Regions from separate parts of the Homo sapiens genome. Here region 2 is linked to region 1. Evidence: promoter capture Hi-C in 16 types of primary human blood cells and fetal thymus (Javierre and others, 2016). All regions are on one chromosome and are shown on one strand. The core of a region is centred on a gene start or on the middle of the fragment in contact, and the rest is flanking DNA. Distances in the headings are between cores, read along the strand shown. Region 1 holds the start of RRP1 (ribosomal RNA processing 1). Region 2 overlaps AGPAT3 (1-acylglycerol-3-phosphate O-acyltransferase 3).

Region 1 (5,433 bases), core at 1,493-3,992:
CCACTGTGCGCGCGACATACCCACTGTGTGAGTGCGACATACCCACTGTGCGCGTGAAATACCCATTGTGTGTGTGCGACATACCCACTGTGCGTGCGACACACCCACTGTGCGCATGACACACCCTGTGTGCGCGACATACCCACTGTGCGCCTGACATGCTCATTGTGCGCCTGACATGCCCACTGTGTGTGTGCGACATGCCCACTGTGCGCGTGACATGCCCACTGTGCGTCTGACATGCCCACTGTGTGCGTGCCACATACCCACTGTGCACCTGACATACCCACTGTGCGCGACATACCCACTGTGCATCTGACACGCCCATTGTGCGCGACACACCCACTGTGTGCGTGCAACATACCCACTGTGTGCCTGACACTGTGTGCATGCGACATACCCACTGTGTGCGAGACATACCCACTGTGCGCCTGACATGCCCATTGTGCACCTGACATGCCCATTGCGTGCGTGCAACATACCCACTGTGTGCGTGCGACATACCCACTGTGCGCCTGACATGCCCACTGTGTGCGTGCAACATGCCCACTGTGCGTGACATACCCAGTGTGTGCGTGCGACATACCCACTGTGTGAGTGCAGGGCCTCTTCTCATTCGTGCTTGTCCCCCGGAAAGTCATGTCCGCTGGAACCTCGGAATGTGGCCTTAATTTGGTAAACGGGTCTTTCCAGACATGGTTAGTTAACATGAGGTCATGCTAAATTAAGGCAGGCCTAAGTCCACACTGACTGACGTCCTCATAAGAAGAGGAGAGGCTGGCTGGGTGCAGTGCCTCCCGCCTGTAATCCCAGCACTTTGGGGAGACCGAGGCAGCCCGATCACCTGAGGTCAGGAGTTCGAGATCAGCCTGGCCAACATGGTGAAACCCCATCTCTACTAAAAACACAAAAATTAGCCAGAAATTGCTTGAATCCTGGAGGTGGAGGTTGCAGTGAGCCAAGATCGTGCCACTGCACTCCAGCCCGGGCGACAGAGTGAAACTGTCTCAACAACAACAACAACAACAAGAACTAATTCAGATTCTAAAACCAGTTGCTAAATGTTTCCTTTTTTTTTTCTTTTTAGACAGAGTTTCAAAATCTGTCGCCCAGGCTGGAGTGCAGTGGCCGGATCTTGGCTCACTGCAACCTCCGCCTCCTGTGTTCAAGCAATTCTCTTGCCTCAGCCTCCCGAGTAGCTGGGATTACAGGTGCTCGCCACCACACCCAGCTAATTTTTGTATTTTTAGTAGAGATGGGGTTTCACCATGTTGGCCAGGATGGTCTCGAACTCCTGACCTCGGGTGATCCACCTGCTTTGGCCTCCCCAAGTGATGGTTGGGATTACAGGCATGAGCCACCACTGCCAGCCTTTTCAACTTTTTATGAAAAATTTCATACATAGAAAATGTCAGAAGATAGGTCAATGAAGACCTGTATTCCTGCCTGTAGACGCCACACTTGTATTTTTTTGAGACGGAGTCTCACTCTGTCACCCAGGCTGGGGTGCAGTGGCGCGATCTCGGCTCACTGCAAGCTCCGCCTCCGGGGTTCACGCCATTCTCCTGCCTCAGCCTCCTGAGTAGCTGGGACTACAGGCGCCCGCCACCACGCTCAGCTAATTTTTTGTGTTTTTAGTAGAGACGGGGTTTCACCGTGTTAGCCAGGATGGTCTCGATCTCCTGACCTCATGATCCGCCCGCCTCGGCCTCCCAAAGTGCTGGGATTACAGGCGTGAGCCACCGCGCCCGGCCAACGCCACAACTGTTAACAGTGTGCCATAGTTGCTTATCTGCATACACATATGTGCGTGTAATGATTTACTTTTTTGCAGAATGAATTACAGACATCATGACAGGTCACCTTTACCAAAGAGTTCTGCAGTTATTTCTAAAAATAAAGAATATTTTTCTACTTCAGGGTATGTCAAACTGTGGCCCTAGGCCAAATGCAGCCTCCCCGTTTTTTTTTTTGTTGTTGTTTTTTGAGACAGAGTCTCACTCTGTCGCCCAGGCTGGAGTGCAGCGGCGCAATCTCGACTCACTGCAACCTCCGCCTCCCGGATTCAAGCAATTCTCCTGCCTCAGCCTCCTGAGTAGCTGGGATTACAAGCGCCCGCCACTACGCCTGGCTAATTTTTGTATTTTTAGTAGAGACAGGGTTTCACCATGTTGGTCAGGCTGGTCTCAAACTCCTGACCTCGTGATCCACCCGCCTCAGCCTCCCAAAGTGCTGGAATTACAGGCGTGAGCCACCGCGCCCGGCACACCCCTGGTTTTAAAAATAAAGTTTCGAGCCGAGAGTGGTGGCGCCCGTGGTCCCAGCTCCTCGGGAGGCTGAGGCTGGGGGATCCCTGGAGCCCGCGAGGCAAAGGCTGCAGTGAGCCGAGATCGCGCCTTGCACTCCAGCGTGGGTAACAGAGCGAGACCCTGTCTCAGGAAAAAAATACAAGTGGGGTTATAAATAAAATGAGATTAAAAAACAACAGATCTTTGCCTCAGAATCCCGACCCACCGCAGCCCCAGCGAGGCGCAGGCGCAGGCGCAGGCGCGCGCTCGCTGGTTCCGCCCATGCGCACAGGCAGGGAGCGCGCGCCCCCTCTGTAGCCTTCGGCCTCCGGGGGCTGCAGTTGCGCGGCTCGGCCACTGCGCGGCGGTGGCGTGCGCCTGGGCGGTGTCGCGGGCTGTGACGTCACGCCACGCGCCGGGGCCAGGAGGAGGCGGGCGCAGGAGGCGCGTGCTCAGTGTGCTGGGTACCAGGCGACTCCGGGACAGGGGGTCTCGGCCGTCGGCGTCATGGTTTCGCGCGTGCAGCTCCCGCCTGAGATCCAGCTGGCTCAGCGCCTGGCGGGGAATGAGCAGGTGACCCGGGACCGGGCGGTGAGGAAGCTCCGGAAATACATCGTCGCCAGGACTCAGCGGGCCGCAGGTTGGCGGGGGTGTGGGCGGCTGGCGTCTCGGGGGCCGGCTGGGCTGGTGCGGGTGTGGGCGGCGGCGGCCGGAGCTGGGGGCCCTCCGAGCCCTGTGGAACCTCCACGTGGCCGGGCCGGGCAGGCGGGGTCCACTGGCCTGTTCCCGCTGTTACCGGCCCACGGCCCCCGCCGCCGCTTTCCCTCGTGGTGCGGTGACTCTGGTCCCTCTGCGAGAACGCTCCTCCCCAGCCCCGTAACCCCTTTCCTAGCTCAGGCGTCCCCTCCCTCCAGTAGACCATGTACTCCTGCTGCCCTGCTGTTTGGGCACCCAGTATTTTTCCCTCATGGCAGCATTTCCCACTGTTTGCAGTTTTCTGTTTTGCGTTAATTATTGGATTGTTTTCCGATTTCCACTCGAGAGTACCTCTCTGAGGGCCGAGAATCTACTTCTTGTTCATGGTACCAGGTGGTTCTCCGAGCGTGGTCCCCCATCAGCAGTAGCATCCCCTGGACATTTGTTAGAAATACACGTTCTATGCCGGGCGCAGTGGCCCAAGCCTGTAATCCCAGCTACTTGGCACGTCGATGTGGGAGGATCACAAAGGCCCAGGAGTCCAGCCTGGGCAACATAGCAAGACTCCATTTCCATCGCAAAAGAAAAGAAAGAAATGCAAGTTCTAGGATCCCAGCCCTACTAAATCAGGACTGGCATCTGCTTTATGAAGCTGTTCAAGTGCTTCTGCTCCCCACACTCAGCCTGAGAACCACTGCTGCAGGAACAGGTTGCCAGACACATAGGACTTCAGTGAATGTCAACTGAGTAATGTTTTAAATTAAAATTTTTTGTTATTTTTCTGAGTGAGACAGACCTCACTGTCATCCGTGGTGGAGGAGTGCATTGGCACGATTACAGCTCACTGCAGCCTCTACCTCCCAGGCTCAAGTGAGCCTCCCATCTCAGCCTCCCCAATAGCTGGGACTACTGGCACCGTGCGGCCAGGCCAGCTAAGTTTTGTATTTTTTGTACAAATTGGGGTCTTCCTATGTTGCCCAGACTGGTCTTGAACTCCTGGCCTCAAGTGATCCTGCCTCAGCACTCAATTCCAAAGTGCTGGGAGTACAGGCGTGAGCCACCGCACCTGGCCTCAGTAATTTCTGTTTCTCTCGTAGTCTGAATGCCTGAGTTCACTTTCTTCTTTTAGTATTTGAGATATATTACAGGAGAGTGCAGAAGCCCTCAGTATAATGCTGGATGAATTATCACCAACAGATTAACCTTGTGGCCACTGTCCAGCTTAGGAAACCGTCAAGGTTCGCAATTTTGAATTTCCAAAATGGAGTATGGTGCCTGATACCTTGTAGATCTCAGTCGGTTTTACTGTGTGCGTGAAGTAGCAGTTACCTGGAGTAGCCGCATAGCCACAGGCGCGGCAGGTTCTGGGTTAGAAGGATTGTTTGAAGGGGAGGGCCAGATTCTGCCCCCCAGTTGCCTTTACCGTAAGTGGGACTTTGGTCTCATTCAGGCAGTCACGTTTCTGTGGCTTCCTTTCTGGCACTCGAAGGTGTGGGATTCATTTGGTCCAACCGTTGCTGTTTTGATGCAGGTGGTTTTACGCACGACGAGCTGCTGAAGGTGTGGAAAGGACTGTTTTATTGCATGTGGATGCAGGACAAGCCACTCCTCCAGGTGAGTGGGGGGAGCAGCAGAGCAGGTACAGAAGCAGCGGGGGAGGATGGATGGGCATCTGGTCAACCCAGTTTTTCTTTTTTTTTTAAGTCGGAGTTTCGCTCTTGTTGCCCAGGCTGGAGTGCAGTGGCTCAATCTCGGCTTACTGCAACCTCAGCCTTCTGGTTTCAAGCAATTTTCCTGCCTCAGCCTCCCAAGTAGCTGGGAGTACAGGTACCTGCCACCATGCCTGGCTAATTTTTTGTATTTTTAGTAGAGACAGAGTTTCATCATGTTGGTCAGGCTGGTCTCGAACTCCTGAGCTCAAGTGATCCTCCCATCTCGGCCTCCCAAAGTGCTGGGATTACAGGCATGAGCCACCGCGCCCGGCCTGGTCAACCCAGTTTTAATATGGCCAGAGACCGTGGGGAGGTCGTATAGCCTTGACGCTTGGTTCGGCACGGCTGGTGGGCCTGGGCCTTTGTTAGGTGAGTCTTACACTTGCTGAGGTGTTGATGTGATTGACTGAGCCGTGCACTGCAGCAGCACTGGCATGGGTGAAAACTGGGTTTTGTGTTTGTCCTGGGTTGCAAACAAGTGCTGAAATAGTGGAAACCACGGGGCGGAATTCAAGTCTCCTGAGACAAGGACGTCTCCTGCTAGCCTTTTCCAAACATTGTTTCTCAAATTGTGAATTTTGTGCTCTCCTTCAAAATCTCCTGGGTGGTGAGGGTACTTAGTTAAGTTCAGGTTCCTGGGCCATATTCCATGCCCACTGAATTATCAAGGGGAGGCTGTGAAATGTCCCTTAGCAAGTATTCTGGGCGATGGCTGGCACGGTGATGTAGGCAGATAG
Region 2 (5,433 bases), core at 792-3,291, 150 kb after region 1:
CTGAATGGTAGCCATGTTTGCTTTAAGATAAAAGAACACCCCGCCTGCAAACCTGAGTGGGGCTGGCACTCCTGGGTGGGGGAACGTTGACCCTGTGGCTTCCTGTGGCCCTGGAGAAAACTCAGGCTTGCTGTTATCACAGGGGTACCCATGAGTGACTTTTGGATTTTGGGAAATGCAAAGCATGTAGATAAGAAGTTGGTCCCTAGATATGTGTGAGTCCCAAAGGCCCACTGGGTGGGGCGCTGGTGAATTGAGCTGAAAGTAGCAGAATCTGCCTTGAGCTGACCTAGGTGGGAAGCCCCAGGGGTCAGCTCCTCTACGCTGGCCTTTGCTTGGCTTGGCGGAGGCGCGCAAGGCCCCTGACTATATCTGTTCCTCCTCTGGGCCACCCTCTAGGTTGCTTTCCACTGCAGGCCTGTCTCCTTGAGGTGACATCGTGGCTGCCTCTGCACCAGCCATCACAACTTGATACAGATAAGTCTGATGTCAGGAAAAGGGAGTTTTTTTTGTTTTGTTTTGTTTTTCTGGAGACAGGGTCTCCCTCTGTCACTAAGGCTTAAGTGCAGTGGCGCAATCGTGGCTCACTGCAGCCTTGAACTCCTGTGTTCAGGTGATCCTCCTGCCTCCGAAAGTGCTGGAATTACAGGCGTGAGCCACCATGCCTGGACAGGAAAAGGGAAATTTCTTTTTGCAACCTTTTGTCAGGGGCTGAAACCTTTCTGGAAGCTCCAAAAGACTCCTTTCTCTCTCTCATTAACTATCTCTAAGGCAGTCATTAGGACGCATCCCATGAAACCAGATGACTTCTGCATAGCCATTGCCTTCTATACCTCAGGCAGGTTCTTGTTAGAAGAAGTGCCAGGCAGAGGTTGTGTGGGCAGCCAGTCATATTTGCATATTTTGGGGTGACTGTGCAGACAGTGCTGGACCAAGGAAGTTGTCTGGGTCCTCGCTGCAGAGGGAGGAGGAAGCAGCTCACACGCTTGCTGTTGTCTGGTGGGAGGGCTGCATTTCTCCTCTCTCCCCCACTTTCTCTCTCTCTCTCTCTCTCACACACACACAGACACACACACACACACACACACACTCACACTCACTGTTGGGTTTCTTGGGCTGCTAACAGGATTAAATGAATGTCTTGGTTCCATGATGTGCATGTTACGCTAGAGAGCTAAGTTAGTTAACATCGCTCATTGGGATAGAAGGAACGTACTGAGGAACGTACTGAGGATTAGAAGTCAGAATTCTTGAATCTGCAAATCTTTTTTTTTTTTTTTTTTTTTTTTTGAGACAGAGTCTTGCTCTTGTTGCCCAGGCTGGAGTGCTCACTGTAACCTCTGCCTCCCGAGTTCAAGCGATTCTCCTGCCTCAGCCTCCTGAGAAGCTGGGATTACAGGCATGCTAATTTTTTGTATTTTTAATAGAGACAGGGTTTCACCATGTTGGCCAGGCTGGTCTCAAACTCCTGACCTCAGGTGATCCACCAGCCTCGGCCTCCCACAGTGCTGGGATTACAGGTGTGAGCCACCGTGCCCGGCCTGCAAATCTTCTATTTTGTTCAGACACTAACTCCAGCCCTATAAATAGTCATCCAATACTTCCAGTAAATGGTGCGCCTCATATTGATCTGCCTGGTTGCCTTACCGTGTTTGTTACATTGCTGTGTAACGAGTTACCCACAAACTTAGCAGCGAAAACAGCAGACATCTATTATCTCACACAGCTGCGGAGGGTCAGGAATCCAGGAGTGGCTTAGCGGGCGATTCTGGGTGTCACGTGGAGTCACATGGGGTCAATGTGTTGGCCGGGGATGCAGTCACCTGAAGCCTTGTGGGGGGAAGGAGGGGCTCCCCCAGGCCTGGGAAGGCTGCGGCTGCCCCATCACGCTCTCTCCTCCACCAGGTTCACAGGTTCACAGAAGTAAAGGCTGAGCATGTCAGGACTGAGCTGAGCGGTTCCCACCTCTCAGTCCACAGTTTCCCACAGAGCACGCAGGGGCCGCACCAGGGCTGGGACGGGGCTGCGACCAGGCTAGGGGAGCATCCTGGGCAAACCCTGCTGGGGACAGGTTCGTTGTGTCTGATGCCGTGGGAGATGCACGAGCAGTGACTTTCACTTTATCCCACTGTGGCCCCGTGACCCTGAGCGAGAATGCACTGGCCGGGCCTCCAGGGGGCGCTCCCTTAGGAACACCCCATCCCCGTCCCCGTGTGCTGTCGAGGGCCTCTAGCGGGCGCTCCCTTGATAACACCCCACCCCCGTCGCTGTTGTTGTCGGGGGCCTCCCGCGCCCCAGGAGGTTTCCCAGGGCGATGCTCTGGTCCCTGGGTCCTTTGATCTCATCTCCCTAGTTTAGCCTTTGAACTCCATTTCAGATTGAGAGGTTTCAGGCTGGAGTGACATGGAGGGACGTGCCTGACTTCTGGAGGATAAGAGGCGGCCCACCCCACAGCTCTTCCAGCGTGGGAGCTCTGAACATGGGACCCGGAGCACCACCGTTTAGCAAACCTTGCTGCAGTTTGGAGAGAGTGTCGCGGGCGCCTGGCCTGTCCGGCAGGCTGGGTGGCTGTTCTCTGTTGAGCCCACAGCCATGCCCCACATGCAGGACGTTTGCCTATCACTTGGAGGCCTTTCAGGGATCTTGCTAGCCCACGGCTGAGCACAGGGTAGACCTCACCAACTCACCCACAACCTGGCCCCTTGACACACTGGTGCTGTGAGGAGGAAGATGTGGGCACTCTTAGGTCCCTGGTCCTAGGGGTCTGTGCTGGGGTGGGGCTCGTTGACCTGCATCCTGGCTGGCCCTGTGACTCTGCCTGTTTACAGTGAGCAGCTCCTGGCCAAAAGCTGCTTATTGGATTAGCCGGTGCCCCGACGGCAGAGCCCGCAGCTGTGCGCAGGAGGACGAACCTGTGTGTATGTCCTGCTTCAGCGCGCTCCTGGGGTCCCTTGAGTTGGTCTCTGTGACTAGAAGGACAGTGCTGGCCACGCAGGTGGCACCCTGGGGGTGCCCAGCACCCACTTCCTGCTGAGCAGATGCTCTGGGTGGCAACGGCCCCTGCCAAGCCTGGGCAGCTCAGGCCAGGTCCTAATCCCTCCGCTTGAGCTCGGCTCCTCACCCTTTGGCCAGGCTGACACCTGCTCCCCGCAGGTCCTTCTCGCCGGCTTCAGGCAGCACAGGACCGAGGGCTGAAGATGCTGAGCAGCTACCCGGCCTGCCTCTTCTCAGGGATCTGTGTGGCCCTGCTGGCGGTGGCTTTGGCCTATTACTTCTACTGGTGAGTGAGGCCGGGGCCCGGGGGCCTGGGCAGTCCTGGGGGCCTTTACTGTGTGCTCCCCTCCTCTTCCAGCCCTGGACCGTTCTCTGCATGTCAACAAACCCTGCCTAGCCCTTTGCAGGGGAACTCCTGGGAGGTAGGGAAGCAGGGGATGGCAGGAACTCATTCTGATCCCTCCTGGGGTCCTTGGGCAGCTCTCCCATCCTTCTGCAAAGGGGTTTTTGTTCAGAACATTCCTGAAGGAGCTGAGCGGTTTCATACCATCTGGGCGGTGTTTGTAGATGCCTGGCATGTCCTGGGACGGACAAGTGCCTGATGTATGGGCACAGACTCCCACTGCCCCCCAAGGCAGGTGCTGTAGGATGGCTGATTTACATGGTGATCTGCACCCTGAGCAGAAAATGCGTAGTTACCATCAAAGTGGCGCTGCTCTGTCACACCCATTGCCTGATGGGCTGGTTTATGGTGATCGCAGGCGATTTCCCAGCTGCCCTTGACCAGAGTCCGTGCCGGCTCTTACTGCAGAAGCCGAGAATCAGCAGGTGTCACAGATCACGCTGGCCTAGGATTTCAGAGACTCGGTCCCAACCCCGCTGTGTCTCCGGGCTGGGATTAGATGGGGTGTTTGTGCTCCAGGCCTCCAGTGCTCGTTGGTAAAACGGGACACTGATGCCGCCTGCTGTTTCTGCAGAGGGTCAAAGGGCACAAGATGCGTGCCAGCCTCTGTCCATGGGGTGTGTGATGATGGTACCAGGTGGTGCAGGGGGCAGCTGGGGGGACCCAAAAACCCCAAGTCTGGGTGCCAACTTTATTTTCTAGAGCCGGAGAACGAGGTGATTTCCTAGGAAGAGACCACAGCTCCCCTGGAGGTTCCACGCTAGACTGTGTTTGTTTTTCTTGGTGCACACTTGGCCAGGAGCTGCTTCTCTCTGATCTGGAAGCTTTCTCTTCTATAGATCCGATTAATGCACTTCCATTGCTAACAGCGGGGAGGGTCACTGCAGGTGACACAGGCAGGAGGATGCCCAGTCTTCCCCATGACTCAGTTTATGTAAAAACGATCAATACTATTTACAAAGAGGTTTACCCAGAGCCAAAAGACAGAATCCTAAGGCTGAGGCAGGAGGATCCCTTGAGCTCAGGAGGTCAAGGCCACAGTGAGCTGTGATTACGCCACTGCACTCCAGCCTGGGCAACAGAGCGAGACCCCATCTCTAAAAAACAAACAGAACCTAAGTGTGGAATTTAGGAGACAAATTAGCTTGGGATTTGGGGCCTCTGAGAGTTTGAGCAAGGGGGTCGGTCATTGGTGAGGGTTCCAAAACCCCAGGAGCAACCGCTCACTCATCCTCAACCTGGGGCTACCGCGAGTGTGACGGGGGCCATGTATACAGGGCAGGCTGGCCCCAGCGAGCGGGCGACTCTGGCAGCTTCCACGGACCGTTCCTGGCGCCTGGGCGGAGAAAGGGTATCAAATCATTTCCTGGGATTCGTGGCTGAGCTATGCAGTTTCACAAATGCTCAAAATGATGAAAGACCTATTAGGTGTTGGGAAAAGAGCGCCTCTGTCTGGGAAGAGTGCCGCATTGCGCCTGAGCAGCTGCTCGTAATTGGCTTATGCCAAGCCTCTCAGCTTCAGCCTGCTGACCAGGTGGCAGGGGACTGGCTGTGCCACCTCCTCACCCACAGCGTTTCCAAGGATGTGCATTTCTCCTTTGCCCTCAGGTCTTCAGTAAGTTAGCTGTGGAATTCGAGGCCTCAAGTGGTGGCCTGCGCCGTGGCAGCGTACCCACAGGTGCCATTTAGTGGCACTTGCAGTACGACCTGGGAGCTTCCGGAACCTGTGGGCTTGTGAGGTCCCTGTTGATCCTGTTTGACCTGGAGGGCCACAGAGGCGGCTTGGTTTTTTTGTGGGGACAGAGACGTTGAGCGTCACGGTGGGTGCTAGGCCTGTAATAGGAGCGATTCTGCATTGATGGCACCACGGGTCCAGGGAGGCCTCGCCAGCTCCCTCCCAGAGCAGGAAGGCGGGCTGGCCACTCACCAGGAGCCTGGGAGTCTGGCGTCCTTCACGAGGCGCTCCTGAAGCACCTCTGCCTACCCTGCATTCGCCACACGTGCCCAGGTACCTGGCGACGGACAGCAGGGAGCCC

What was found. The method cuts DNA at HindIII sites, captures the fragments that hold promoters and counts their contacts. A CHiCAGO score of 5 or more calls a contact.
Region 2: a fragment that was not itself captured here is called in contact with the fragment with the promoter of RRP1 in region 1 in 10 of 17 cell types (erythroblasts, megakaryocytes, endothelial precursors and 7 more); the score reaches 13.9 in erythroblasts.

The regions. Positions count from the first base shown.
Region 1 is chr21:43,786,835-43,792,267 of GRCh38, forward strand. RRP1 (ribosomal RNA processing 1) reads left to right here and starts at 2,743. Exons shown (of 13, transcript NM_003683.6): 1 at 2,743-2,928; 2 at 4,516-4,598. The coding sequence starts at 2,796. RefSeq lists enhancers at 1-107, 108-648, 2,804-2,913 and silencers at 2,544-2,773, 2,984-3,153, 5,093-5,305. The HindIII fragment of the contact is 31,682 bases long and covers 1-5,433 here.
Region 2 is chr21:43,937,052-43,942,484 of GRCh38, forward strand. All of the region lies in intron 2 of AGPAT3 (1-acylglycerol-3-phosphate O-acyltransferase 3), which reads left to right. Among named protein-coding and RNA genes, the nearest start is that of TRAPPC10, 73 kb to the right of the region's middle. RefSeq lists enhancers at 1,044-1,093, 1,372-2,272, 1,630-2,029, 2,273-3,171 and a silencer at 3,711-3,882. The HindIII fragment of the contact is 4,356 bases long and covers 1-4,219 here.